Regions from separate parts of the Homo sapiens genome. Here all the other regions are linked to region 1. Evidence: promoter capture Hi-C in 16 types of primary human blood cells and fetal thymus (Javierre and others, 2016). All regions are on one chromosome and are shown on one strand. The core of a region is centred on a gene start or on the middle of the fragment in contact, and the rest is flanking DNA. Distances in the headings are between cores, read along the strand shown. Region 1 holds the start of WIPI1 (WD repeat domain, phosphoinositide interacting 1). Region 2 overlaps BPTF (bromodomain PHD finger transcription factor). Region 3 overlaps BPTF (bromodomain PHD finger transcription factor). Region 4 overlaps BPTF (bromodomain PHD finger transcription factor). Region 5 overlaps BPTF (bromodomain PHD finger transcription factor).

The links. The method cuts DNA at HindIII sites, captures the fragments that hold promoters and counts their contacts. A CHiCAGO score of 5 or more calls a contact.
Region 2: a contact is called between a fragment that was not itself captured here and the fragment with the promoter of WIPI1 in region 1, in 3 of 17 cell types (naive CD8 T cells, total B cells and non-activated CD4 T cells). The highest score is 6.5, in naive CD8 T cells.
Region 3: a contact is called between a fragment that was not itself captured here and the fragment with the promoter of WIPI1 in region 1, in 7 of 17 cell types (non-activated CD4 T cells, naive CD4 T cells, total B cells and 4 more). The highest score is 6.5, in non-activated CD4 T cells.
Region 4: a contact is called between a fragment that was not itself captured here and the fragment with the promoter of WIPI1 in region 1, in 1 of 17 cell types (total B cells). The highest score is 6.6, in total B cells.
Region 5: a contact is called between a fragment that was not itself captured here and the fragment with the promoter of WIPI1 in region 1, in 9 of 17 cell types (naive CD4 T cells, activated CD4 T cells, total B cells and 6 more). The highest score is 12.1, in naive CD4 T cells.

What each region holds. Positions count from the first base shown.
Region 1 is chr17:68,455,676-68,461,115 of GRCh38, forward strand. It overlaps WIPI1 (WD repeat domain, phosphoinositide interacting 1), which reads right to left and starts at 1,821. Exons shown (of 13, transcript NM_017983.7): 1 at 1,667-1,821. The coding sequence starts at 1,746. It also overlaps a transcript of PRKAR1A not described here. RefSeq lists silencers at 1,561-2,240, 1,977-2,263. The HindIII fragment of the contact is 11,803 bases long and covers 1-5,440 here.
Region 2 is chr17:67,897,101-67,902,601 of GRCh38, forward strand. The region is part of intron 7 of BPTF (bromodomain PHD finger transcription factor); the gene reads left to right. Among named protein-coding and RNA genes, the nearest start is that of BPTF, 74 kb to the left of the region's middle. The HindIII fragment of the contact is 507 bases long and covers 3,514-4,020 here.
Region 3 is chr17:67,914,722-67,920,878 of GRCh38, forward strand. BPTF (bromodomain PHD finger transcription factor) reads left to right here. Exons shown (of 28, transcript NM_182641.4): 12 at 3,993-4,117; 13 at 5,294-5,422. Among named protein-coding and RNA genes, the nearest start is that of C17orf58, 79 kb to the right of the region's middle. The HindIII fragment of the contact is 7,070 bases long and covers 1-5,956 here.
Region 4 is chr17:67,860,494-67,866,676 of GRCh38, forward strand. It overlaps BPTF (bromodomain PHD finger transcription factor), which reads left to right. Exons shown (of 28, transcript NM_182641.4): 3 at 5,971-6,183. Among named protein-coding and RNA genes, the nearest start is that of BPTF, 38 kb to the left of the region's middle. The HindIII fragment of the contact is 3,407 bases long and covers 1-3,403 here.
Region 5 is chr17:67,938,150-67,943,762 of GRCh38, forward strand. It overlaps BPTF (bromodomain PHD finger transcription factor), which reads left to right. Exons shown (of 28, transcript NM_182641.4): 19 at 2,290-2,507. Among named protein-coding and RNA genes, the nearest start is that of C17orf58, 56 kb to the right of the region's middle. The HindIII fragment of the contact is 623 bases long and covers 1,213-1,835 here.

The DNA of each region.
Region 1 (5,440 bases), core at 571-3,070:
TAGGGAGTAAGGAAATTAACTTTCAAAGCACCCTACCGTTTTGAAAATAACATTCTTATTCAATTTCTGTAGAAAGCTGGGACTTTGCGTTATTTAATGGCTAGAGTATAAATTAACACCCTTTTTTGTCAAATCTAATGATGTTACAAAGCAGAATTTAGAACATTTACTACTTACAAGCAAACTAACCCCCTTTCTTAACTTGTGTTCAATTGGGAAGGAAAACATCACCCAGGCATTTCAACAGCCATGCCCTCTTGCAAAATGTTTCTTACAGAACATCAGGATTTTATCTATACCAGCATTTTTATAAACTGCAGGTCTCAACTCATGAGTGGATCCTAAAACGCAATTCAGTGAGTCACAAGCAGCTTAGAAAAAAAGGACACAGAAAATTGCACATGATATTTTGTGAATAGTGTATGTGTTATGGGTATTGGGTGATGTTGCAATACATATTTCGTATTGTGGATTGTGGTCAAGAAAAACTTGAAAGTCACTCAAATAACCAAGCTGTAGAGCTACTCGATTACATGATTACACATATGGGTTTTTCAAACAAAGGCATATTGTTCAGCACCGGGTGTTTTTAAACAGAAACATAAAGGGAATGGAAGCCAGGGTGGCTAATGGTACATAATGGCCTTAATTACACCACTGAAGGATCAATATTAGCGTAGCTCAGTCACCAGCAGCCAAGGCACAGAAACTGGTACAGCAGGAAGTGGGAAACTGGGAATCGGTCATCCCCGCCTGATGCTCAGGGTGCACATTCCAAAAAGATGATTCCATATGGTCCCCAGGGCTCGCTTCCATGAAAATAGGGAAAGAAACAGGCGTTTGCCTGTAAGTCACAGAATCCTGCAGATGCCTGAAACACACTTCAGCCCAGCTCCCTCTCAAAGCCCAAATGTGAACATCGAAGTAAAACATTAAAAATCCACTCAAAAACAACAGGGTGGAGCTCCTGTTTCCTGGAGAGAAAGCAGTCTGCGCCCGGGAAAAGAGTCTTGGACTCCGAGAAGGAGATCCTGCCTGGCTGGGTGGGCGATGTGAAAACAGCCAAAGAAATCCAAAGGTTTCTTCCATCCAGAGCGGGCAGGCACGATGCCCTGCGTCGGGGATGGGACAGGGGCTGGCCTGGCCGCAGGGATAGGCTGCCTCTTTGTCCGAGGCCCTGCCCAGATGCCACGTTGAGATGCTCAAGGACAAATGGGAAAGTTTTTCCTGTACTCTCATCTTCCTGGGCCCCAACTACAGAGTCCTGGGTCAACTTGCAACTTCCTCTCCTTTCTCATCTCTTTCTTTTGGCCACTGTCTCTCTTCCCCAGACACCCACTTTGGTCACTGGCTTTCCCACCGCCCTGCTCCCCCCATATTCCGTGGCCCCCGCAGCCCCACCACTCCCTTTGCGAACTCCCTGCTTTCACCCTTGGCCCAACCTTGTCGCTCTGGGAGGACACTGGGAGTGGGGTGGGGTGGGGGGTGCGGCAAACCCCACTGAAGGGGTACGGGGATAACAAGATCCCAATGCGTCCGAAGCAGACACCGGCCCTCCCGCCGAGGCCGCCTCGAGGCGGAAGCCACAAGCTGCTCTCAGGACGACACCCCTGGGTCCTGACACTCTGTCCCCCACCTCCCTGGCAGGGGCCGAGTCGCAGCTTACGTGCAGTCCTGGTTGAAAGAGAAGCAGCTGAGCGCCGACTCAACCCCGCCCGGGGGAGCGTCCGCGGCCTCGGCCTCCATCGGGGGCTCGGCCCGGGAAGCCGCAGCTCGGAGCCGGCGACAGCCACCTCAGCAGCCCGCCCGCGCCGGCTCCACGGGCCGGGTCGCCGGTCCTGCCCCGCCCCTACCCCGCCCCGTCCCCACCCCGCCCCTACCCCGCCCCGTCCCCACCCCGCCCCTACCCCGCCCCGTCCCCGCCGCGTCCCCGGCTTCGCCCCGCCCCTTCTCGCCCCTCCAGCTGGTCCCGAGGACCAGAGCACCTGATAGGGCGGGGCCCCTGCCTCCGGCCACCATTGGCCACGAGCCCAAGCCACGGCTGGCGGGCACCGCCCCCCTTGGCCAATCCGTGGCAGCTGTGGGCGGACCCGCCCGGCTGGCGACCCGCCCCTGGCTTCGTAACGCGGCTCTCCATTGGACAAAGGCGCGTGACGCAAAGGCAGCAGGCCCACGTGGCGGTGTTTTCATTGCCGGAGCCGCCCAGCTGGGAGGGAGAGGGAAGAAGGAATGCGGCTGGGGCCAGATCTGCTGGTTTCAGTCCGGCAACTGCGTCGGGGCCGCCGCAAGGGTGACAGGAGGACGCGCTAGTTCCCACCCCGCCCAGACCCCTTGCCATGTGTAACTCTGCCTATTAAACTTACAGAGTTTAGCAGAGAGCGTTAGACTCCAAAGCCCCACCCTTTTGTCGAGTCCTCAAGCCGCATTGAGAGAAGCTCCTGAAATGGGGCTGCCTCAGCCAGAGAGATAGCAAGTTATCTTATCCATTGCCGAGCGGTTGAGAACCCTCACTACTTGCCAAGCGCGCCGTACTATGTATGTCATCTTGAATTCTTATAAAACTTGTGTGGAAAATACGATTGTGCTCAATATACAGAAGAGGCAACTGAAGCTCCAAAGCTAAACAATTTGTCTAAAGTAACAGTAAATGGTAGAATGTCTGCATGTCTGCTTTCAAGACCTGTGCACTAAATAACTGCTAAACAGTAATTTGCAAAAACAACGTAGCACCTAGCATGCGAGATTCTAGGTTTTCTAACCAGGACAGAAATGACTGCAGCATTTGACGGAGCTGGAAGGTGGGGGGAAGCACCTTTGATCTGAAAAGTTACAAAAATGGCACAAAGTATCTAAACAAGACCTATCCGATCCGCAGCTGAAAAAAATGAAAGTGTGTGTAGGGCAGTGTAGTTTATGAAAGGGGTAACGTCTTGAAGATATAGCACAATTCAAAACTCACGTAATTCGAGATAAACCTTAACAAAGAATCTCTTTTTAAAAGCTGAGTACTGTACATGTTCCCATGCGGAATTACTGTCAATACGGTTTATGAAGCAGGAGCTCTGCCAGCTTTGGATTGTATAACTGCTGATGGATTTTTAATTCATTTTTTCAAATTTTGAGATGATATTTTAGTTATTGTTATATGACAGTCTCTCAAATCAGCATAATTCAAATTTATTAGGTTGGTGCAAAAGTAATTGCGGTTTTCCCCATTTCCCACTTTTAATACCCAGTTTATGACAAAGCTACTTTTATGTATGTGTATATATATATATATTTAACCTTGGACCTACAATAGATGAACAAAGGGCACTATTTCACCTAAACCTTTCTGGTTGGATTTCCGGTTTGTGTTTTCTGAGATGCAAATGTAACAGTTTCTTTTCTCAACTTTATTATTTTTTTCTCTCCACTGATGTAAAAAATAGTTCAGCTCATAGATTCACAGATGTTATTGCTCTTTGGCTGATTGTGAGGTGTTGTATAAACTATCAGAAGTGAATGGAACTGCTGTTTAGATACTTTGTGCCATTTTTGTAACCTTTCAGATCAAAGGTGCTTCCCCCCACCTTCCAGCTCTGTCAAATGCTGCAGTCATTTCTGTCCTGGTTAGAAAACCTAGAATCTGGCATGCTAGGTGCTACGTTGTTTGGAGAATTACATGAAGTGTACCATAAAGTTTTTAAAGTGTAAGCTGTTATTATCAGTTTGTTATTAAGAGTTTGGACTTTATGGGATAGACCTGGGAGCTGGTGTTAGTTTTTGAGCAGGAGTGTTTCATGATAAAAAAGCAGTGTCTTTGTCAGATAAACTTGGCCAGGGTGTGCAGAACAAATTAGAAGTGGGAAAAGATCTAGAAGTCTTTAGGGGACTAATGTGAAATTCTGGAAGTAAAGGGACAGGAGAGACTAGGCTAAAGTGATGAAAACAAGGCCAGAAAATTAGACCAAATCATAGAGTTGTTTTCAGGCATTGCTGTCCAGTAGATAAAATGAGCCCCAAATGTGAACTCCACATTGTAAATTTCAGTTTTCTAGAAGATACATTTAAAAAGGTAGAAATAGGCAAATTAATTGGAATAATATCATTTATTTAATCCAATGTGTCAAAAATATCATTTCAATATAAAGATAATCAATATAAAGTTACTAATCAGTTAATTCAGGTTTTAATTTTTTTTTTTTTTGAGACAGAGTCTTGCTCTGTCACCAGGCTCACTGCAACCTCTCCATCCCGGGTTCAAGCGATTCTCCTGCCTCAGCCTCCCAAGCAGCTGGGACTTCAGGCCCCCGCCACCATGCCCAGCTAATTTTTGTATTTTTAATACAGACGGGATTTCACCATGTTGGTCAGGCTGGTCTCACACTCCTGACCTCATGATCCACCTGCCTCAGCCTCCCAAAGTGCTGGGATTACAGGCGTGAGCCACCACGCCTGGCCTCAGATTTTAATTTTTTTTTAGAACTAAATATTGAATATCCGGTGTGTATTTTTCACTTACACCATATCTCAGTTCACATGAGCCACATTTTAAGTGTTCATGTAGCTGGTGGCTACTTTATTCTCAGTAGAGTCTTGAGGGACTAAATGACAGGCATGGCAACTGATGGGGAAGGGGGAGGGGCAGGGAAGAAGAGGGAAGAGTCAAAGCTGATTTCATGGTTGGGAAGGGGAAGCCCATTGGGTTGCTTTTAGAAACTAGATCTTCAGTCAGGTATTCAGGAAGTTGTATTTCATTTCAGACACTTTAAATCAGCAGCAGAACTGCATGCTTACTGGAATCAAGGTTTGGATCTAGAGCTATGGCCACGGGAGAAAAATGGTCACCTTCCCAGCCTCAGCCTTTCCTGTGAATGGTCCCCCTTATATGTTTCTTTCCAGGCTAATGGTCCATTATGGCACCAGCCATGTGGAAATAACATCTCAGGGCTGCCTCATCTGATTTCATTTTTCCCAAGACAATATGTAAGTCTGTATTTTTATATAAATCTGTGCCTATTTTATTAAAAACCTGTATTTGTAGGTAAATTTAAAAAATGATGAAAACTAATTCTTATTTTCAAAAAGTACCTCATAAGCTAAACTAAATACATCAGCTAGCTGGATGTGGTTTGTGGAGGGCTGGTTTGTGATTTCTGTTAGAGGTGTAAGCAGCCACTTTGAAGAGCTCCACCCTCAAAAAATTTCCCAGAAGTCCATTCATATAAAAAGCCAAGGGCAAGGTTATAAATAACTTAAGAGGTGCTGAATCCATTTAATGTCAGGCTGGTTTTTCTTTTTTAACATTCTAGTTCTGGGTTCTGTGGGAGAGGACACTCTTGATTTGAATGTTGGGCTTATGGGCAACCTAAGTCTTACAAGTTCTTGCAACAGCAATTTCACTACTAAATAACATCAGCAAAAGATAATGGGGTAGGTGGGGCAGGGGACAATGCTT
Region 2 (5,501 bases), core at 2,517-5,016, 560 kb before region 1:
GCAGTCACCTGAGGTCGGGAATTCGAGACCAGCCTGACGAACATGGAGAAACCCTTTCTCTACTTAAAAAAAACAAAAACAAAAAACGAAATTAACCAGGCGTGGTGGCACATGCCTGTAATCCCAGCTACTCGGGAGGCTGAGGCATGAGAATCGCTTGAACCCGGGAGGCGGAGGTTGCGGTGAGCCGAGATCATGCCATTGCACTCCAGCCTAGGCAACAAGAGTGAAACTCTGTCTCAAAAAAAAAAAAAAAAAAAAAAAAAAAAAAGTAAAGAAAGAGACATACTAACCAATATTTCTGATTCTCTTTTATTAGAACTTGGAATTTTAAAGCCTTCACAGGGTCACTAACACAGTATTCAGGTTTCCTACATCCACAAAGAAAGGGGTCCACCTAGAAAGAGTGGACCAAGATGGTGGAATAAAAGTCCCCAACTCATCGTGCCCCACCTTCCATCCCCACTGCCACAGAAAGGGACCCACCGAGCTCCTTTTGGGTGGGGGGAAGGGTTGGGGAGGATGCCACAATGATCTCAGTCCTTAGTAGGGCAGAAGCCACACTCTTAGGCAGGAAAAGGATTTCTGGTTATCACTGCACCTGTCATTAAGGTGATCGCAGGACCAGATGATTTCATAAGGTATTTCTTAAATTTCGAGAACCAGATAGTTCTATTTAAACTTTTCTACCAGAATAGAAAAAGGAAATTTTATAATTATTGTTTCTGTTAGTGTGAAACTGTTAGGAAACTTGATAAATAGAAATAGACAAATAGAAAATTATGGCCCTGTCTTCTTTATTAATATTTATTAATAATTAATAGCAAATAGGTGTATCTATAAGAAATCTGAAAATATTGGTATGCAGATATATTCAGGAGTAAATTTAAAGAATAAGAAACCATGGCTGAATTGGCTTCACCTTAGACACCAATCTCCAATACTAGGAGATTACTAATACCATACTATTTTAAGAAGTCAAAGAAAGGCTGGATGCAGTGGCTGACACTTGTAATCCCAGCACTTTGGAAGGCCAAGGCGAGTGGATCACTTGAGCCCAGGAGTTTAAGACCAGCATGGCCAATGTGGTGAAACCCCATCTCTACTAAAAATTAGCCAGGCATGGTGTTGCATGCCTTTAGTCCCAGCTACTAGGAGGCTGAGGCAGGAGAACCACTTGAACCTGGGAGGCAGAGGTTGCAATGAGCTGAGATCGCACCAGTGCACTCCATCCTGAGCAACAGAGCAAGATGCTGTCTTAAAAAGAAAAAAGTTGAAGAAAGGAAACCTTTTGATCATCTCATTAGATGCCAAGAAGGTATTTTATCTAAGTTCATTATAATTTATTGGGTTTTTTTATTTTTAATTTTTTTACATTTTTAATTTTTTCGTAGAGATGGGGTCTCCCTATGTTACTCAGACTGATCTTGAATCTCTGACCTCAAGTTATCCTCCCACCTTGACCTCCCAAAGTGCTGGGATTACAGGTGTGAGCCGCTGCACTTGGCCTATTTATTCATTCTTTTTTTAAACTCTTAGATAAATACGAGTATATGAAGTCTTTTTTTTTTTTTTTGAAGATGTATTGCAAACCAAATTATTATGCCTTTTGGTGAAACCCTTGAAGCATTCCCAATAACATTCAGGTGGAACAAAAAAGATACCCACTATTGGCCAGGTGAGGTGGCTCTCCCACCTGTAATCCCAGCACTTTGGGCAACCACGTCAGGAGAATCACTTGAGGCCAGGAGCTGGAGGCTGCAGTGAGCCATAATTGCACCACTGCACTCCAGCATGGGCAACAGAGTGATACCCTGTCTCAAAAAAAAAAAAAAAAAAAAATTTCTAAAAGTACCAGGAAATGCAGTTTGCCAAGAGAAATAAAACTTATAAATATTGTCAAGATATAGACACAATTATTATATGCAGTTGATCTAATTAATTAACACATACAATTTTGTTCCACGCTGAACTCCACCAAAACTGTGGCCAAACTTTTGTAAAATTACAGACCCACAGGGACAAGAGGAACAACAGAAAATACACCACCTATAAAATTGCTGAAGCAATAATGCAGGTAGACAAATGGCAGCCTACCCACAAAGGCCAAATCCCAAGTCAGTGGGGGAAAACAGTCCTCAAAAGATCCAAAAGCAGGAAGTACAGAGCCAGCCGCTTTGGATGCTTGGCTGTAGTAGACCTGTTTTATGCTGCAGTCACGCCAGATACCTTGATTGTGGTGAGCCCTGTATCTTCCAGGGTTTGCTCATGATCTCACCCACTGATTTCACCAAAAGAGGTCTGTAAACTTTCCTGAAAGCTGAAGCCAGACTGTGACCCAGAGACAAGTTTATATTTTCCTGGGAACCTTCTTTGATAGTAACAATACTGCTCTATGCAGGTAGTTTTATACTTGATGCTGAGTTTTTTTTCTTTTTTTTTTTTTTTTGAGACAGAATCTTGTTTGTCGCTCAGGCTGGAGTGCAGTGGTGCAATCTCAGCTCACTGCAACCTCCACCTCCCGGGTTCGAGTGATTCTCCTGCCTCAGCCTCCTGAATAGCTGGTATTATAGGCGTGTGCCACCACGACCAGCTAATTTTTGTATTTTTAGTAGAGATGGGGTTTCACTGTGTTGGCCAGGCTGGTCTCCGACTCCCAACCTCATGATCTGCCCACCTCGGCTTCCCAAAGTGCTGGGATTACAAGCATGAGCCACCGCGCCCGGCCTATGCTGAGTTTTCAAAAGGCAAACTTATACAGTTTGGGATGCACACACATAGGTTCTAAAAGTATAAGGAAAAACAAGGGAATGTTTAGCACAAAAGTATTGATTGCCAGGGAGTTGGACACACAAGCATCTGATGTATTGGTTGTAGATAAAGTTCTGTTTCTTAACCTGGTTGCATTTTACATATTTTTGAAAATTTTAATGAAGCAGAAGATTCCAGGAACAACAACAACAAAAACCTCCAGCACCTAGGAATAATTGTGTGTGTGCGCATGTGTGTGTCTGTGTGTTTTGAGACAGAGTCTTGCTGTGTCGCCCAGGCTAGAGGGCAGTGGCGCCATCTCGGCTCACTGCAACCTCCACCTCCTGGTTTCAAGCAATTCTCCTGCCTCAGCCTGCTGAGTAGCTGGGATTACAGACAAGTACCACAATGCCCGGCTAATTTTCGTATTTTTAGTAGAGATGGGGTTTTGTCGTGTTGGCCAGGCTGGTCTCGAACTCCTGTGCTCAAGTGATCCACCCTCAATGGCTTCCCAAAGTGCTGGGATTACAGGCGTTAGCCACCGCGTTCAGCCAAATGTAACAAGAAATATTCAAGGCCTGTGTAAAGCAATCTTTAGGCCAGGTGTGGTGGCACATGCCTGTAATCCCAGCACTTTGGGAGGTGAAGCGGGAGGATTGCTTGAGCCCAGGAGTTCAAGACCAGCCTGGGCAACATAGGGAGACCCTGTCTCTACCAAAAATAATAATTAATTAATTAATTAAAAAGCTAAGCAATCTTTAAAGCTTAACTAAAGACATGAAGGATACTTTGGGAATAAGATTTTCCATCCTGGAGCAGGGGAGGTTTGACCAAAACGATACTAATATTTGATCTAGAAAAGTTAATGTGCAAGAATACTGCACACAGTAGCTCACGCCTGTAATCCCAACACTTTGAGAGGTTGAGGAGGGAGGATCACCTGAAGTGAGAAGTTTGAGACCATCCTGGGCAACATAGCAAGACTCTGTCTCTACAAAAAAATTAAAATTGGCCAGGCATGGTCTTGCTTGCCTGTAATGCCAGCTGCTTGGGAGACTGAGCCTAGAAGTTGGAGGAGGATTGCTTGAGCCCAGGAGTTTGAGGCTGCAGTGAGCTATGATTGCGCCACTGTACTGCATCCTGGGCAACAGAGTGACAACCTGTCTTTAAAAAAAAAGAAAAGAAAAAAAAGTTATTGTGTAAGAATAGCCAAAAGGGGAAAAAATAGATGTTAGTGAAAAAGGTACTAGATATTAAAGCACATTTTGAAGCTTCAATAATTTGTTCTACAGAAGAAGCAAATCAGTAGATAAAATACAGAATCCAAAAATAGACCTAAGCATGGGAATTTAGCTGTAGTAGCATTGCACATCACAAAGGGAAAGCATGTTTGGGAAGATATCACTTAGATCTCTGCCTTAGCAAAAAACATTTAGATTGATGAAGAATTGTTAAAAAAAAAAAAACCCAGAACCCTAAAAACAAAAGAAAACGTCAATAAGAAAGCATGAATTAATTTATGTTTTTGTTGTGATACTTTCTTTTTAAACAGATAAAAAATCCAGATGCCATAGAGGAAAAAAGTGGATACATATATTTAAAATTCTGAGTGGAAAAATGTTATTGTAATCAAAGTCAAAAGACAGATGACAAACCGAGGAAAAATATTTTTACCACAAATGGAAAATTTTCTTGATTGACAAAGACCTTTTATAAATGAAAACTACTAATAGTCTAATACAAACAAGACAAAGGATTTGAATAGGCATTTTGCAGAAAAATAAATATGAAAGGCCAGTAGACATAAAAAATGATTACTTCTCTCATAATTAAAAACAATGGGATAGTATTTTTTACCTCTGAGTTTGACTAACAGTTTAGAAGTTCAATACTAACTCAGCATGAGTGAAGGTGTAGGAACGCAGGGTGGCTTTATGATTGCACTGTTCTGAAGAGTAGTTTGACCCTATATCCGTCAGCATTTTCAGTGCAAGAACTTTTGGACCCAGCCATCCCACCACTGGAGGATATAGGGGGGTACTCCCCAGGTTTACCAAGAAAGACATAAAATATTGTTTGTTACAGCTATGGCTGTGATAGCAAAACACCACAAAACCCTGAGCACCAGTGGAGTTGAAGTTGAGTTCATTCTCTTGGTTGGACTTCGTTGGCCAAGAAGTAGAAAGAAAATCTGCCACTGGCACACCCACCAGCATGCTACTCTGGGATAGGTAGCATCAGAGATTAGCCATAAGACTGCCTAACTGGCCTTGCTTCCTCCACAAAGAGAAGCCTTTGTATTTGGTGATAAAAGGGACCTCTTTGCCTCATGGACACCAAGAACACAACTGAGCACCCTGCCCAGCTTTGAGCTCCTAGGGTGTCACTGCGCTGAAGTCCTTCAGACAGTGCTCCATTCCTGGCCTCTCTCAGTGAAAATGGCCCAGTTGCCATGCTGGACCTGGCCTTTCAGAGGTGTATAGAAGCCAAGCCCTCAAAATCTCCATGAGAAATCCTACACAGTCCTCCTGGCATAGTCACCCCGCCTTACTCCTGTAGCCTGAGACTGTCAGGTTATCCACCGTATTGTGCCTACAGAGCTAGTCCTTCTCCTTAGTTCCAAGCGTGTTGGCAGAGGGATGGAATTTGAGTACATTAGCTCCCAGTGAGGATCTGCTCCCTTTCCCCTCCTCCCATCAGCTTATGAGAGACTACGAAGAGCCTATGGAGAATGTTTGCTACACCAGTTG
Region 3 (6,157 bases), core at 1,172-3,671, 540 kb before region 1:
GCACTGGTCCCAATCAAGTGTTGCTCGGGGCCCTGTTCTGCACAGCTGAATTTCTGGAGCTGAATTTCATGTCTTAGTATGCACTATGGTACAGTTTATATTACTTGATTTCACATTTTTTAATGGGAGGAAATACCTTCCATTAAACATTCATTTTAAACTGATACAGCCTTCAAATGTATGCTAACGTCTTAATTTGCCAAAACATATTTGAGAGAAGCATAATCCTTTCTGTCTAATGGAGGCATGGGTAAATATGTAAATTGATCATGACTTTAGAATGCATTTTTTAAAAGCATATTGCTATAAAAAGCCATGCACGTGAAATGCATTTTTATACTAACACTAGAATAGAATACATCTGATGGTTAGGAGTTAAGAATGCCAAAGATGCATGTATGATCTTTGTTATTAATGTTAAGGCTGAGCAATATTGGAAAACTTGTCTCATACACTCAATAGGGCCTCTTTTTCCCTCCACACCATCCATTCCCTTATGCCCATCCTCCCAGGCCCTGATTCTGTGCTTCATTTTCACATTGAACTGATAGTTGTCCTCCACAGTGCTGCCAGAAAGATTCTCCTAAAATGCCCCTCTATCCTGTGAATAGTCTGACTGAGCTAAGGGACTTGGTAACTACTGCAGCAAGGAGCGGGGAAAGCATTTGTCACCTGTAGATCACATTCATGGAAAGTACTTCCCTTTACAACCCATCCAGTACTGGATAAATCTCAGAGGACTTAATATACATACCCTTTAATGCTCTTCTTTAATCTTTTATTTTGGTACAGCGCATTCTGGCTTCTGCCTTTTTCTCTCATGCCACCTTCATCTCTTTCTGTACCTCTACACCCCTTCCCTCCAGTCATAAAACACTGGATGTGGTTTCTGGGAAGAAATGTGTACTCCTGCACACTGTTCTGTTTAGCATATGTGTGCCCCTTGCCTTTGATCAGCAACCCCCATACTCTTAACTTGTCCTTTGAGACTCCAGCAAAGCTCTGATCCTCATTCCCGAGCCAACTCAGATGTCCCTCCCTTGTCCTTTCCTCTCTTACAGCTCCTTGAGAACACAGACAGATTCTAGTTTACCTCTGTGTCCCCAGCTCCTTTCACATAGTCTAACACATAGAAGATGCTCAAGTATTTTTTGAATGAATGCTTGAATGAGCAGACTTACCGTGCATGTGGTGTGTTCCTCCCTGGTGTTATTTCCATTTTAAAATAAGGATACTTTAAAGTCATTGTTTGACCACAGAGAATGAGGACAAACTTTTCCTTGCAAATAAATATTTATTTGCTTTCTCCTGTGACACTAAAGATCTCTAGGAATTACTATGGGGTATGGTCTGAAAGTGACAGACACTTTCCCCCTCTTGGGACATCCCTGCACTAGTTAACATTTCCCCTCTGATTTCCCCTTGACCTGCTCTGTCCAGGTCAGAGGATTCATAGTGCGATAACACAGTGGAGAAAGTAATGGTGTCACAAGTGGATATGGGAAGTTAAGAAGCTGCAGCAACTTTTTGGCTAGAGCTTTCTCTTTCACAGTGTTCATTTTTCCAACTGAATGCTGTCAATAGAAAGCATTGTCTTTCAGGTGGGCTCACGCCTCCCAGCACTTTGGGAGGCCGAGGCAGGTGGATCACCTGAGGTCAGGAGTTCGAGACCAGCCTGGCCAAAGTGGTGAAACCCCGTCTTTACTAAATATACAAAAATGAGCCCGGCGTGGTGGCGGGCGCCTGTAATCCCAGCTACTCAGGAGACTGAGGCAGGAGAATCACTTGAACCCGGGAGGCGGAGGTTGCAGTGAGCCGAGATCGCGCCATTGCACTCCAGCCTGAGCGACAAGAGCAAAACTCCGTCTCAAAAAAATAATAATAATATACAAAAATTAGCTGGATGTTTGGGCGGGCGCCTGTAATCCCGGCTACTCGGGAGGCTGAGGCAGAAGAATTGCTTGAACCTGGGAGGCGAAGGTTTCAGTGAGCCAAGATTGCTCCACTGCACTCCAGCCTGGGTGACAGAGCAATACTCTGTCTCAAAAAAAAAAAAAAAAAAAAGAAAGCATTGCCTTTTACATACAGAGTTGTTTGAGATTTACCTTCCACCTCTGTTAGAAGAGGAAATTATTTTTATTTTATAGCCTTTGTCTACACCATAATCAACCACTAAGTTCATTTAAGTAGAGTGAAAATGTCAACAAAGTATTCAGTTACACAAAGATATATAGTGAATTCCATTTTAGGACATGATATTTAATGCAGTTAAGTAAATTTATTTTGAAATACGTTTTTAGTATTTTTTAAGAATGTGTAAAACGTTTAGTACCTCCACACACAATGTTTAGAAACAAACATGAACACAGAGAGATTTGTCTGTTGATAAGTAACTAATATGGTATTGTCCTTTTTTTTTTTTTTTTTTTGAGATAGAGTCTCACACTGCCGCCCGAGGTGGAGTGCAGTGGAGCGATCTCGGCTCACTGCAACCTCTGCCCTCTGGGTTCGAGCTATTCTTCTTTCTCAGCCTCCCAACTAGCTGGGATTACAGGCGCCCGCCACCATACCCAGCTTAGTTTTAGTAGAGATGGGGTTTCACTATGTTGGCCAGGCTGGTCTCAAACTCCTGACCTCGTGATCCCCCCACCTTGGCCTCCCAAAGTGCTGGGATTACAGGTGTGAGCCACTGCGCCCAGCTGATATTGTCCTTTTTCTAATATTTTACTATTCATTGTAGAATTTGAAAACTACACTAATGCTGTTAAAGTTTTATTAGTATTAACTTTATTCATCATCCAGTTGTTCATGTTTTGAATAACCACCATTTGGATGCAGAATGTTTTTGTCCGTTTGGAAAGGTCTTACTAGATTTGTAAGATGTTTTTGGTTTAATTTAATTAATTAATTAATTAATTAATTAATTTAGAGACAGAGTTTCACTCTTGTCGCCCAGGCTAGAGTGCAATGGCATGATCTTGGCTCACTGCAGCCTCTGCCTCCTGGGTTCAATTGATTCTCCTGCCTTAGCCTCCCAAGTAGCTCGGATTACAGGCATGCACCACCATGCCCAACTAAGTTTTGTATTTTTTGTTTTGTTTTGTTTTTGAGACAGAGTCTCGCTCTGTCGCCTAGGCTGGAATGCAGTGGCCGGATCTTGGCTCACTGAAAGCTACACCTCCCAGGTTCACGCCGTTCTTCTGCCTCAGGCTCCCGAGTAGCTGGGACTACAGGCACCCACCACCGCGCCTGGCTAATTTTTTGTATTTTTAGTAGAGATGGGGTTTCACCGTGGTCTCAATCTCCTGACCTTGTGATCTGCCCACCTCGGCCTCCCAAAGTGCTGGGATTACAGGCATGAGCCACCATGCCCGGCCCTAAGTTTTGTATTTTTAATAGAGATGGGGTTTTGCCATATTGGTCAGGCTGGTGTCGAACTCCTGACCTCAGGTGATCTGCCCACCTCGGCCTCCCACAGTGCTGGGATTACAGGCGTGAGCCACCGCATCTGACCTCATTTTATTCTTTTAGAAAATTTAAACATTTTCAGGTTTCTTGTTTTTGCAAAAGTTAGGATTTTTCCTTCAAAACTCCTTTATCACATTTAATAACAATTATCTATTTCTCTATATTTGGTCCCCAAAATTTTCCTAACAGATATTTTGGAATTAGGTTAACTTTATAAAGTCTTCATGAATTTTTGCCTTATCAACCTTACAATGAAACATTCTCATTTTATAAACTTATATGGCATTTAAAATGAATATAGCCCCTTTTAAAAAAAAATGTTAGGTGCGTGTTATGCCTATGAATGAAGAAGTTTTTCTTTTAAAGGACATATAATACCAAAGTCTTACAAAACCATATTATAAATACTGGAGTCCTAATGAGGACAAGAAACACAGCCCTTCAGTTTAGTAGAGTGAATATGAATGTGTATGTGTATGTATATACATATAGATATATATGGATTTCTTTGGTTTTCCTTTCAGGTATAGACTTCAGACAGTAAAGTCCTTAGCTGGAGTGAGCCTGATGTTACGGTTACTGTGGGCAAGTTTGAGATGGGATGATATGGCGGCCAAGGCTCCTCCAGGAGGAGGGACTACACGGACAGGTAAGGGGGAAGGGAGTTATTTTCTAATTTAAGTTTAAAAGCTAAAATCACAGGCCAGGCGTGGGCGCTCATGCCTGTAATCCCAGCACTTTGGGAGGCTGAGGCAGGTGGATCATGAGGTCAGGAGATCCTGACCATCCTGGCTAACATGGTGAAACCCCGTCTCTACTAAAAATACAAAAAATTACCTGGGCGTGGTGGTGGGCTCCTGTAGTCCCAGCTACTCGGGAGGCTGAGGCAGGAGAATGGCGTGAACCTGGGAGGCGGAGCTTACAGTGAGCTGAGATTGTGCCACTGCACTCCAGCCAGTGCGACAGAGTGAGACTCTGTCTCAAAATAATAATAATAATAATAATAATAATAATAATAATAATAATAATAAAATATAATGCTTGTTTTTTAGAAATACAGTTTTGGCCATGTGTGGTGGCTCTCACCTGTAATCCTAGCACTTTGGGAGGCCAAGGCAGGAGGATCACTTGAGGCCAGGAGTTTGTGACCAGCCTGGACAACATAACGAGACCTTGTCTCTTCAAAACTCTAATTTAAAAAGAAAAAAATCAACTAGGCCTTGTGTTTGTAGTCCCTGCCACTTGGGAGGCTGGGGCCAGGAGGATTGCTTGAGCCAGGAGTTCAAGGTTGCAGTGACTGTGGTCCACTAATGTCTTCCAGTCTGGATAACAGAGCAAAACCCTGTCTCTTAAAAAAAATTTTTTTTTCACATACAGCTTTGTTGAAGTTTGGCACATGCTATAAAATCCCAGGGGCCAGAAGGGAAGGTTCAGATTATAAAGTGAGTCACTTATGTGTGAACCAGTCTACATTTTTTAAAAGATATTTATGATTGTTTAATTAAAAATTTAAACTAAGACTTCTGGAGGCCTGTGCTTGCTGCTTCTGTCCTAGGCTTTTTATTATTTTGATTGAGTATTGCCACCAGGAGCTCAGCTATACCCAGCAGCATTTTGTTTCGTTTAGGAATTTGCAGCGAGGAAGAAGCTCAGTATTGTTGCAGTCTAGCAGTGATCCTGCTAGATGTTAGTGATCCTGTTAATTAAGTCAGGTGTTTCCAAAAGTTTATTCCACGTGTGTCTCTTTTTGAAAGCACCAGATGTACCTTTTTAGTCTCTGAGTATTTCAGTTGGTTATTAATACTATTGAATTAAATCACCATAGAAACATCCGAAACTGAAATCACAACAACAGAAATAATTAAGAGGAGAGATGTTGGTCCTTATGGCATTCGATCTGAATATTGTATCAGGAAAATCATTTGTCCCATTGGAGTTCCAGAAACACCAAAAGGTAAGAAATAGAATTCTATTCTTTCATGATTAACCTGTTAACCATGTATTTTATGAATTGAAATTTGATATAATTTTTTCTTCTCTGTTCACCTTTTAAAAAAGACATATTTTACAACTACCAAATTTTGAAAATGATATTAAAGTAATAAACATATCAAGATTCTGGTAGACACACATCGATGCCTATAAGCCTTGTTCTAAGCACAGCAAAGGGCTATAATAATACCTCTTGTAATTAAGATGTGAGACATTGATTGACCCCAGACCAGCAGCTCCTGGAGAGCAGCCATCTCGTCTGTCTGGTTTATTGAAGTCACGGCAGCTAGTACCGAGTCTGATATGTAAGTGGGTCAATAAAGGTTTCTTAAGGATTAAAACTACTGTGAAATACTTCAGTGCTCAAGGTAGAGATAATCCAAGAGGCATAAAGAGTTACTCAAAAAATGTTTATAGAGCACCAGTACAATAGGCACTGGGTGGCAAATACATAGAAGAATGATATTTGGCCCCTAATCTCAAGGAAGCAAAGTAAAGCTTATAGTATTATAATATCAGTGTTATATGTGTTGCAGTAAGCTAAGAGAGTAATATTGGAAAAGAAGATTAACACTAATTTATAGATAATTATGAATGTCTACTTAGAAAATTCATGAGAATTAAAAGTATTAGCACTAATAGGAGTTCATTGTAGTATCCAGATTGAAAATATATAAATTCCATTTTATTTTATATA
Region 4 (6,183 bases), core at 450-2,949, 600 kb before region 1:
TCTTATACATGAATTTATAGTCCATCTGAGAAGCCAAGACATATTCAGCATATAACTCAGAGGCCAGTTTTCATTCATTATGTAAGTGGGCCAATCTTTCTTAACTATTGCTTTTATCCTGTCAATCCTTTGCTCTGAAATTAGGACCTACTAAAATAGAAATTACCAGATTAGATTAGCATGTTTTTCTGTCACTCTCCATTCTAAATATAATTACGTGAACACAGCATTATATTTCATTTTTTTGCAGAGACAGAGTCTCACTATGTTGCCAGGCTGGTCTCGAACTCCTGGGCTCAAGTGATCCTCCAGCCTTGGCCTCCCAAAGCGCTAGGATTACAACAGGCGTGGACCACCACACGCCTTTAAACAGCATTTTAAAAATCTGTATTCATTTTCCGAATCAACTAAACTATGCTTTTAAATCTATACAGCTTTCTACTCCCCATTCTAGGTACAAACCACATATTAACTTACTGACTTCCCGTGCCTGAATTCCTTCTGTCCACGTTCAGTTCTGTATGTCCAGCAGACTCCTGGACCTGTCCGCAAGGCAGGCACCTCAAACGTGTTTAAAACCAAACTCATCGTTTCCCCCCATTACCTACTCTTCATCCAGCGTTCTCATCTTAGTAAATGGAATTACTGTCCCACCAGCTGCTCAAGCTAGAAATATGAGAATAAACTTTTTCCTTTATTGTTTGCTATGCCTTTAAAATAAATATTGAATCAGTTTCTCTCCATTCCCACTGTCCCTCCGTGATACAAGCCAGTGTCATCTTCATTAGACTAGTCAGTCACCCCTAAAGTAGTGTAACCCCCTACCCCAACCTTCCAAGATTTTTTCTTTTTTTTTTTTTTTTGAGATGGAGTCTCACTCAGGCTGGACTGCAGTGGCCCAGTCTCAGCTCACTGCAACCCCCTGCCTCTTGGATTCAAGCGACTCCCGAGTGGGTGGGATTACGGGCGGCCGCCACCACACCTGGCTAATTTTGTATTTTTAGTAGAGACAGGGTTTCACCATGTTGGCCAGGCTGATATTGAACTCCTGACCTCAGGTGATCAGCCCACCTCAGCCTCCAAATGTGCTGGGATTACAGATGTGAGCCACCATGCCCAGCCATAGCTGGATGATTTTTAAAACAGCAATTTTGATCAAGTCTCCTTTTCCCCTAAGTTGAAAAACCTTTTAATTACAATTACTTCCATTTGCCCTTAACCAAAACTTCAGATTCTTTAGCACAGATCCCTAACTTTGTACATTTAATTATCTTGCTTTCTAACACTTAAGACAACATAAATAAAAAGCAAACCAAAGCACCTAAAAACCTGTTGGCTAACTAGCTCATTCTTGAGGTCTCAGCCTATTTATGCTACTTCCTAGGGATTTCTTTGCCTGCACCCCTTTCTTTCCCTGAACCCCTTTTTCTCTTGCATCGTGAAATACTACTTTTTAAAACACCCATCCTACCAATAGTTTTTTTGTTTTGTTTTGTTTTTTGATACAAGTCTCACTCTGTCGCCCAGGCTGGAGTGCAGTGGCACAACCTTGCTTCACTGCAACCTCCGCCTCCCAGGTTCAAGTGATTCTTCTGCCTCAGCCTCCCAAGTAGCTGGGATTACAGGTGCCTGCCACCACACCCGGCTAATTTTTGTATTTTTAGTAGAGATGGGGTTTCACCATGTTGGCCAGTCTGGTTTTGGACTCCCGACCTCAGGTAATCCACCTGCCTCGGACTCCGAAAGTGCTGGGATTACAGGCGTGAGCCATCGTGCCCGGCCTAGTTACTTGTTTTAAGGTAAATATTATACACTTCATAAGGTGAGGAAAATGATGACAACTATGTATATGATACCCATGAAGTGCTGGTACTACTCTAAACACTTTATATATTTTAATTAATTTAATTCTAACAACAGCATCTTCCAGGATATGTACCGTCACCCTATTTTTCAGATGGAGAGACTGAGGCATAGAGAGTTTTAAGTAATTTATCCAAGATCACACAACTACAAAGTGGTGGGATCGGGATTTGAACCTAGGCATTCTGGCTCCAGAATGTGTGCTCCTAAGCACTACTTGGGCTGCTTGACCAAGAGCTTAGGACCTAGCTTTTGTCTTTAATTGCTGAATTGCTAGTTTTATCAGTTTCCTGCAGCTGCTATAACAAAGTACTATACCAAAAAAAAGTACTATAAAACTGGGTAGTTTAAAACAGTAGAAATTGATTATTTAACAGTTTTGGAGAATAGAAGTCTAAACTCAAAGGTGTCAGCAGGGCCATGCTCCCTCTGCAGGCTCTAGGAAAAAAATCCTTGCTTTTTTTTTTTTTTTTGGCCTTTTCTAGCTTCTAGCACCCCAAGTGTCCTTGGCTTGCTGGCAGCATAATTCCAATCTCCCTGTCACTATCTTTTCAAGGCAGCTTAGGTTTTTTCTATCAAGCACCTAACAGTTCTTCAGCCTCTTCCCATTACCCAGTTCCAAAACCACTTTCACATTTTTGAGTATGTTAGCAGCAGCACCCCACTTCCCGTACCAAAAGTTGGGAGTTTTCCAGGGCCACCATAACAAAGTACCACAAATGGGGTGGCTTGAAAAAATATGAATTTATTGTCTCACAGTCCTGGAGGCCAGAAGTCTGAAATCATGGGTCAGCAGGGTTGGTTTTTCTGGAGACTTTCAAAGAGAATCTGTTCCATGCCTGTCTCCTAGCTTCTGGCAGTCCTTAGCATTTCTTGGTTTACAAACAGACACATCACTCCAGTTGCTGCCTCTATGCTACCTTCTTTTCTTTTTCTTTTCATTTTTTTGAGACACGGAGTCTCTGTTGCCCAGGCTGGAGTGCAGTGGCACGATCTCGGCTCACTGCAACCTCCACCTCCCAGGTTCAAGTGATTCTCCTGCCTCAGCCTCCCAAGTAGCTGGGACTACAGGCACATGCCACCATTCCTGGCCAATTTTTTGTATTTTTAGTAGAGATGGGGTTTCACCATGTTGGCCAGGATGGTCTCCATCTCCTGACCTTGTGATCTGCCCGCCTTGGCCTCTCAAAGTTCTAGAATTACAGGCGTGAGCCACCACGCCCGGCCCATTACCTTCTTTTCTATGTGTCACCTTGGGTCCTCTCCTTTTCTAAGGATACCAGTCATTTGACTTAGGGGCCACCCTAAATCCAGGATGATTTTTATCTCAAGATCCTTAACTTTACATCTGCAAAGACCCTATTTCCAAATAAGATCACATCCTGAGGTTGCAGGTGGACATGAACTTTGGGGACATTATTCAACTCATTTCACTAGTGTTCTTTACTCTTCATTTCTATGGGTTTGTTTAGAAACGAAAGTTGAAACTTACTGTGAGTCATTAACCTTCTACTTAGCTAGCCTAGGTAAAAGTCAAAGAAGCTTTAAAATGTAGACATATAATATGTATGTTTGCTCTTAATTATATTTTTAGCAAACCTTTTCTTGCCAGTCTGTCTTCTCTTTGCCACCCTATGAGTCCTTGAGAATGTGTGCCCAGTGGTAACTTCAGGGAAGCCTGGCCAGTTTGGGTGAGCCTGAGGAACATGGTAGGCCTTGTAAGAACCAGAGCTTCTACAGAACCACATTATAACTCCAAAACCAAATATACATACATAATGTATATTTATGTGGAAAGCTGTTGTCACTTTTACAATGAGGACAAATAATTTTGATTATATAAACTGTATATAGGCCAAGTAACTAAGTATAAAAAAACAACTTTTCAGCCCGGTGCGGTGGCTCGTGCCTGTAATCCCAGCACTTTGGGGAGGTTGAGGCGGGCGGATTGCTTGAGGCCAGACGTTCAAGACTAGCCTGGCCAACATGGCGAAACCCTGTCTCTACTAAAAATACAAAAATTAGCTGGGCGTGGTGGTGTGTGCCTGTAAATCCCAGCTTCTTCAGAGGCTGAGGCATGAGAAGTGCTTGAACCCAGGAGGCAGAGGTTGCAGTGAGCCAAGATTGCGCCACTGCACTCCAGCCTGGGCAACAGAGTGAGACTCCATCACAAAAAAAAAAAAAAAAAAGGAAAAGAAAAAAGTTAAACAAAACAAAACAGACCAAAAAAACCCCCAACTTTTCTTTGAATGGATTAGCAGGTATTCACTGTTTTGCTGCTTTATGCTTTAATGAATTTTTCTTTCTGTGGCTTCAAGAAGAAAAATGTTAGGTCAGTGAATACGGTATAGGTTGAGTATCCCTTATCTAAAATGCTGTGGATCAGAAGTATTATGGGCTTTGGAATATTTGCATTATACTTACCAGTTGATCATTCCTTATTTATTTATTTTTTTGTTTATTTTTGAGACAGAGTCTCGCTCTGTCACCCAGGCTAGAGTGAACTGGCGCGAACTCGGCTCACTCTAGGCTCCACCTCCTGGGTTCACACCATTCTCCTGCCTCAGGCTCCCGGGTAGCTGAGACGACAGGCGCCTGCCACCATGCCCGGCTAATTTTTTTTGTATTTTTAGTAGAGACCGGGTTTCACCGTGTTAACCGGGATGGTCTCGATCTCCTGACCTTGTGATCCGCCCGCCTCAGCCTCCCAAAGTGCTGGGATTACAGGTATGAGCCACTGTGCCCAGCCAGTTGATCATTCCTAATCTGAAAATCTGAAACGCTCCAATGAGCATTTCCTTTGAACGGCATGTTGGCACTCAAAAACTTTTGGATCTTGGAGCATTTTGGATTTCAGATTTTCGGATTAAGGGAACTCCACCCATATCCTTTTATTTATCTGTGATTTAATATAGGCCTTCTTTCTTCAGAATTACTGAATGACTTATTCCTGGAATGCTGCTAAATTTTTATTCATTTATTACCTTAGTAATAATATTTAACATTTATTGATCACTGGTGTGCCCAGGCACTGTGGTAGATGCCTTATCATTATACCTTTAAGTCTTATAGTGGCCTGCAGGCAGGTTTTATTATATCTTCATTTTACAAGTGAGGTAAATAGAATGGCTTAGAGACTCAGAGAGGCTGTGTCTTGTCCATGTCCACATATCTTACAAGCAAATGAGTGTATTTAAAGCCAGATCTCTCCTAAAGCCCAGTTCTTTCAGTTCCCTCAGTTTGCCATTGAGTAAACAGGAAAATCAGGCTCACTCTCATCGAGTGCCTCACACATACTCTTGAATTCCTTTTGAGTGGGGACAGAAATACCATTATATGTGTTCCTCTATGTCTAGTCCTAGACATTAATTTGCCTGTTTGTTTTAAGTTAGTGACCATCTCTGTTGAAGTCTTTAACTCCATTAAAAGTGAATGGAACCTTAGGAGAGTTTTAGGCAGGAGAGGAAGCTCCTCTTCTCTCCAGTTTGGGCTTCGATTGTCCAGAAGTAAAGAAGAGGGATGAGATATTATTTGAGATAACTCCTTCAAAAACCAGAACTTAGCAAAGCATTTACACCATTTTGTTAGAAATATTTCTAAACTATATTATAAAGTTAGCTGGGTATCGTGGCACATGTCTGTAAGTCCTAACTACTTGGGAGGCTGAGGCAGGAGAATTGCTTGAGCCTAGGAGTCTGAGTACGCAGTGAACCACGATGGTGCCACTGCACTCTAGCCCGGGCGACAGAGTGAGACCCTGTCTCTAAAATAAATTTATTTTATTCTAAAATAATTCTAAATACATTCTTCTCATCATATTGTTACATTGATGATCTTAAAGTTGGTTGAGATGTAGCTGAAACTGGCTTCCACAAAGTACTCTCACGTGGTTCTGAATTTTGAGGTTATTTTTCTTTGTGTCATGTTTTTTAGATATCATTTCTCAGAGTAAATCAAGTTTGAGTGAGACCTGCAGGGTTTTCTTGTGAGCGCCTATATTGAGTTTTAGTGCATAAGCTTTGTTTTAAGTTTTCACTGGGTAGATGAACTGTCAGATAAGTGGCATTATGTCTAACATATAAAGTATTTCCCCCCATTTTTAAACAGAGAAGAAGATACAGAAAATGAAAATGAAAAGAAAATTTGGTATTACAGCACAAAGGTCCAACTTGCAGAATTAATTGACTGTCTAGACAAAGATTATTGGGAAGCAGAACTCTGCAAAATTCTAGAAGAAATGCGTGAAGAAATCCACCGACACATGGACATAACTGAAGACCTGACCAATAAGGCTCGGGGCAGTAACAAATCCTTTCTGGC
Region 5 (5,613 bases), core at 274-2,773, 520 kb before region 1:
TTGATCTAAAAATAAATTGATATATACCTATTGGAGATCATCTGGGTGGCTTATAAAAATGAATCAGTACCAATCCTTTTATCTGTCTCTGCTTATGATGGCAATGTATCTGTACCAGGTGATCTCTGGAAGTGATAACTTTTCATGTATTGTTTCTCAAACTGCAATGCAAGGACATAGCACTGGGATATAGGAGTTCTCAAATTAAAGACCTTGGCCACACTATGTTATGCTGTCTTTCAGTTCATCTTGAGTAAATGAATGAGAGTAACCAAGAAAAATTTAGAAGAAAGAGTAATAATGGAAAACTTGTACTACCAGTTGTTAAAGCTATTATAAAGCCACCAAAATTAGCATGATACCAAAGGAAGCAACACAAATAGTTACAGAGGCATTATATGTGGGAATTGGCTGCATGACAGTGGTGTCATTTTGCATCAGTAAATGATACTGGAATAATTGGCTTATAGTTTGGGGGGAAAATAGACTTCCGTGTTACAACATATACCAGGACTAAGAACATTCTTGGGAGGATGTATCTGATGAGAGAATACAAGAGAACTTTACAAGCAATAATTAAAGCCAAAATTTTTAAAAAGACTAGTCTGGCCGCATTTTTTAAAATTGCAAGTTTAGAAATAAAAACGTAGATGGCAAAGTGGAAAAAATAGTTTCTAAAAATATGTATTAAATAAGTAGGAAAAGAAATGGGCAGTGTGTGGAGAGTGAATTCACAAATGAAGAACAATGACTTAAAACAGTTTTTAATGCCAACCTGTGGTAATTGAGGAAATTTAGCACTGTGATACATGATACTATTTGCAGTTGCCTGAATATTTTACTTTACTGGTGATATCAAGGTTTGGCAGGGTTCAGTGAAATAGGCACACAGAGCTGGCAGTAGTGTGAATTGGAATAACCTTTCAAAACTTCAACTTAGTACTATATTCCTACTATGAACCCAGTAATATTTTTTGGAGGGTTACTTTAAAGAAATAATCAGAAGCACCCAAAAATGGATAAGCAGGAATTTTACCATGGCGTTAGTTTAACAACAACAACAAAAAGGTGTGGGGGAAGTATTCTGAATGTCAAAATAAGTTTCATTTTACATATGTGCAGTAATATGAAGTATCATTCAGCCATTAAGAGAAACACAAAGATATATATGTGTATCCACAGATGGAAAAAAGGCAGCGAGTAAATATTAAAAGCTTGAGAAATTTGATGTTATTCAGTAGTTAGTAATGAGTCTGTAAGTGTCAAATTAGCTACCAAAAAATTATTCTTAGCAACTGTTCTACATGGGGGAAAATTCCACTTGCCTATTCTAGTTTCAGCAAGTTAAACTAAAAAGAGGTTTATGGAAAACTGTAGAGCCATTCCAGTTCAACTTCATTCATTCAATAGACATTTATTGAACAATTACTATGAAAGCATTATTTGGGCCAGGTGAGGTTGCTCATGCCTGTAATCCCAGCACTTTGGGAGGCCAAGGCGGGTGGATCACGAGGTCAGGAGATCAAGACCATCCTGACTAACATGGTGAAACCCCATCTCTATTAAAACAAATACAAAAAATTAGTCGGGTGTGGTGGGACATGCCTGTAGTCCCAGCTACTCGGGAGGCTCAGGCAGGAGAATCGCTTGAACCCAGGAGGCAGAGGTTGCAGTGAGCCAAGATCACGCCACCGCACTCCAGCCTGGGCGACAGAGCGAGACTCCGTCTCAAAAAAAAGAAAAGCATTATTTGAGCACTCTGCCCTAGTATTGAGGATATAGTGGTCCTTGCCTTCATGGCTCTCCCAAGCTATCTGTCAAATAGCTGTAAGAGAAGCTTATTATAAATGCAGTTGGCCCAGAATATTCCAGATTCTTTATATTTTGTTTAAAATTCATATGAATTAATTTTTTATTAAATTAGCACTTATTTTTAATATTATATTCCTAAGAAAAGGCAGCCTTATAAATGGCATATTTTACACATTCTTTTTTGTCTTCCCTATTATCATTTTGGTTTTAGATTTATAGGAAGAATTTTAATTGGTTTTTTCCATTATCCTACAGACAGCAGAGACTGGATAACGGTTGGCAGTGAAAACAGACTCACTGCCAACCAGGCAGGACCTTTGGATGTGGGTATATGTCTGAATGTATCCTTAGGCTCTGAATATCCCAGTGTTTTTTTGAAGATGGAAAAGAATACGTTCATGTGAGGTGTTGAATTATTTCAATTCAAAATAATGCCAAGGGTGTATAAGCATTCATAATGTTTTGCTGTTTGGGTAGGTGCTCCTCAGCAAGTGATGACTCAAATCATCAGGGGGCAGCCTGTCTCCACTGCAGTCTCCGCCCCTAACACGGTTTCCTCAACACCTGGGCAGAAAAGCTTAACTTCAGCAACGTCCACTTCAAATATACAGTCTTCAGCCTCACAACCCCCTCGCCCCCAACAAGGACAAGTGAAGCTCACCATGGCTCAACTTACTCAGTTAACACAGGGCCACGTAAGTAACATAAGCTTTATTTTAACTTTAGAGGTGATCTTATTTATTCTTGCGGTAAGTTTAAAAACATGAACTTATTTTGATACGTTTTTAAATGTGCTGATTTGAAGAAATGGTTGCTTCCTGGAGTCAAGCAGAAATACCTCTTAGACAGGATATAATAAACCCCAACTACTAGAGTAATCTTTAGACAGTGAGCTAAAACAGTGAGACAGATAACCCTTTTAAACACCAAAATTTTATTAGTTGGCTAATCTCCATGAGACAAATAAAATTTGAGTACATTAAGCTGCTTCCTTGCAAGACTCGATATTGTTAGCAAGTCTTCTAATATTGATTAATAAATTGAATGCAGCTCCCATCAAAATCCCAAGAGGTTTTGTTTTTAGTGAAACTTCACAAGCTGATACTGAAAGTTTATATGGAGGTACAAAGTATTAAGAATATCTGTACCTTTGAAGAACAGGATTATTTGCCCTATATATGATAACTTGATATCAAAACTTAGTATAGGCTGGGCATGGTGGCTTGCGCCTGTAATCCCAGCACTTTGGGAGGCCAGGGCGGGTGGATTGCTTGAGGTCAGGAGTCTGAGACCAGCCTGACCAACATGGTGAAATTCCATCTCTGCTAAAAGTACAAACAAATTAGCTGGGCGTGGTGGCATGCGCTTGTAATCACAGCTACTCAGGAGGCTGAGGAAGGAGAATTGCTTGAACCTGGGAGGCGGAGGTTGTAGTGAGCTGAGATTGCACCACTGCATTCCAGCCTGGGTGACAAAGCAAGACTTCATCTAAAAAAAACCAAAAAACTTAGTATATAATACTTCACTAATTAATATAGTGAGGTACAGACATAAGGAGAGGCAGATAGACCAACAGAACAGTAGAGAGTGCAGAACATGAACCCCATGTATGTGGACACTTGTTATATGACAAAGGTGACATTGCAGATCATTGAGGAAGAGATGACTTTTCAGTAAATGGTGCCAGGACAATTGAATATACATGGGAAACTGTGAAATTGGACCATTATTACCTCACTCTACATAAACTCAATTCCAGGAGGATGAAAGTCCTAACTGTGAAAGGTAAAACTATAATACCTTTAGAAGATAGAAGAATATCTTCATAGCTTTCCTAAACAGATAGAAAATGCTAACCATAAATGAAAAGATTTATAAATTCAACTACTTTAAAAATAAGAGTAAGAACCTCTGTTCATCAAACTCACTACAGAGAGAGTGAAGAAAATGAGAAAAGAACCAACCAAGGACTATTACATATCCAGAATATATAAAGAATTACTACAAATCAAGAAAGAAAAAAATCCAGATAGATCAATAGGAAAAAAGACAAACAGGCAAGGTGCGGTGGCTCACACCTGTAATCCCAGCACTTTGGGGGGCCAAGGTTTTGGGAGGCCAAGCCAGGTGGATCACTTGAGGTCAGGAGTTTCAGACCAGCCTGGCCAACATGGGGAAACCCCGTTTCTACTAAAAATACAAAAATTAGTCAGGCGTGGTGGTGTACGCCTGTAATCCCAGCTGCTTGGGAGGCTGAGGCAGGAGAATTGCTTGAACCCAAGAAGCAGAGGTTGCAGCGAGCCAAGATATACCACTGCACTCCAACCTAGGCAACAGACTCCGTCTCAAAAAAAAGAAAAACAAAAAAAAAAGGACAAACCAACATTATGAGGAAAGAAGAAATCTAAATGTCCCAAATTCCAAAAAACTGCTGAACTTTATTAATAATGAGAGAAGTACATATTAAAACCATATGCTTAAGAGATTGGTACAAATTTAAATGTCCAACAAAACCAAGAGTTAGCAAAGACATAGAGCAGAAAGAATTCTCATGCACAGCTGGTGGGCCTATCAGTCGGTTCAGCCATTTTGGAAACTTCCTGGACATGGTCTGGTAAAGTCAAAGCTGTGTATGCCCAAGGTCCCAGTATACCTTCTAGGTATATCCCTAGAGAAGTTGTTGGCCATGTGAGCACCAGAATACATGGCATAAATATTGGTAGCAGCATTGTTCATAAGAATCAAAAACTAAGAACAACTCAGGTGTCTATCAAAATCAGTTAGCTAAGTAAATTGTAGTATATTCCTACAGCAATAAAAATGAATAGACTTCAGCCACACAGAACTATGCAGATGATTCTCACAAATATATAATGGTAAGCTAAAGAAGCAAGTAGCTGCCAAAAAAAATACATGTTATAATTTCATTTGTATAAGATTCAGAAATAGGCAAAACTAAGCTATTTTGTGTAGGGATACAGGGCTGCTGCATTGCCTGCCTGGAGGGGGCACTATTCCCATTGTATTCTTTGTGAATATTGCTCCTGAGTTTGTGAACCTCAGTGGCCTTATATATACCTAAGATACATACCGAAGTAGTAATGAAATACAGTGTTATCATCAAAGTGAGGATAGTGCTTACCTCTAGGGGAGAGGGAGGGAATTGAAATCCGGGTGAGTCATATGGGGACTTCTAGGACACTGGCAATGGTGACCACAGTGGCGGTTTTATAGATGTTTACTTTATAATTTTTAAATTATACTTGGTGTTTTGTGCATTTTGTGCATAAAAAATGTATTTTAGAAAAGCAAGAGTAAATAAGTTTTGAGGGATTCACATGTATATGGAGCTTACTTAGTACATGGACTTTGCGCCATCAGTTTTGGTCATTGGGAGTTTAGGGGATGGTTTTTACTTTTGCTTTCCAGTTCTCCAGCATGTTCCTGGTATTCAGGGTTTCTAGTTGAATTACAGTTCTGGACAGAAGAGAGAGCGCCTAGAGAATTTTAAATTTCTGGACCCCTTTTTGGTAACTGCTCAGACCTTAGTGATCCTCCTTACTTGGTGTTTGCATTACATATCTAAAACCCTAAGCTTTTTACAGTTTAGCACACACACACCCCATAGGTAATTTGGCACGTATTGAAAGACAAAATTCAGGAGATCTAGGTTCCTTCTTTTATCTCACCTTTAAGTTGGCCAGGGTACTTGACCTTTCTAACCTGAGTTTCTTAGTTGGGAATCAGAAGAATATTTTCTCTGCCTACCCCATAAAGTCACAAGTCCATTGTGAGAATCAA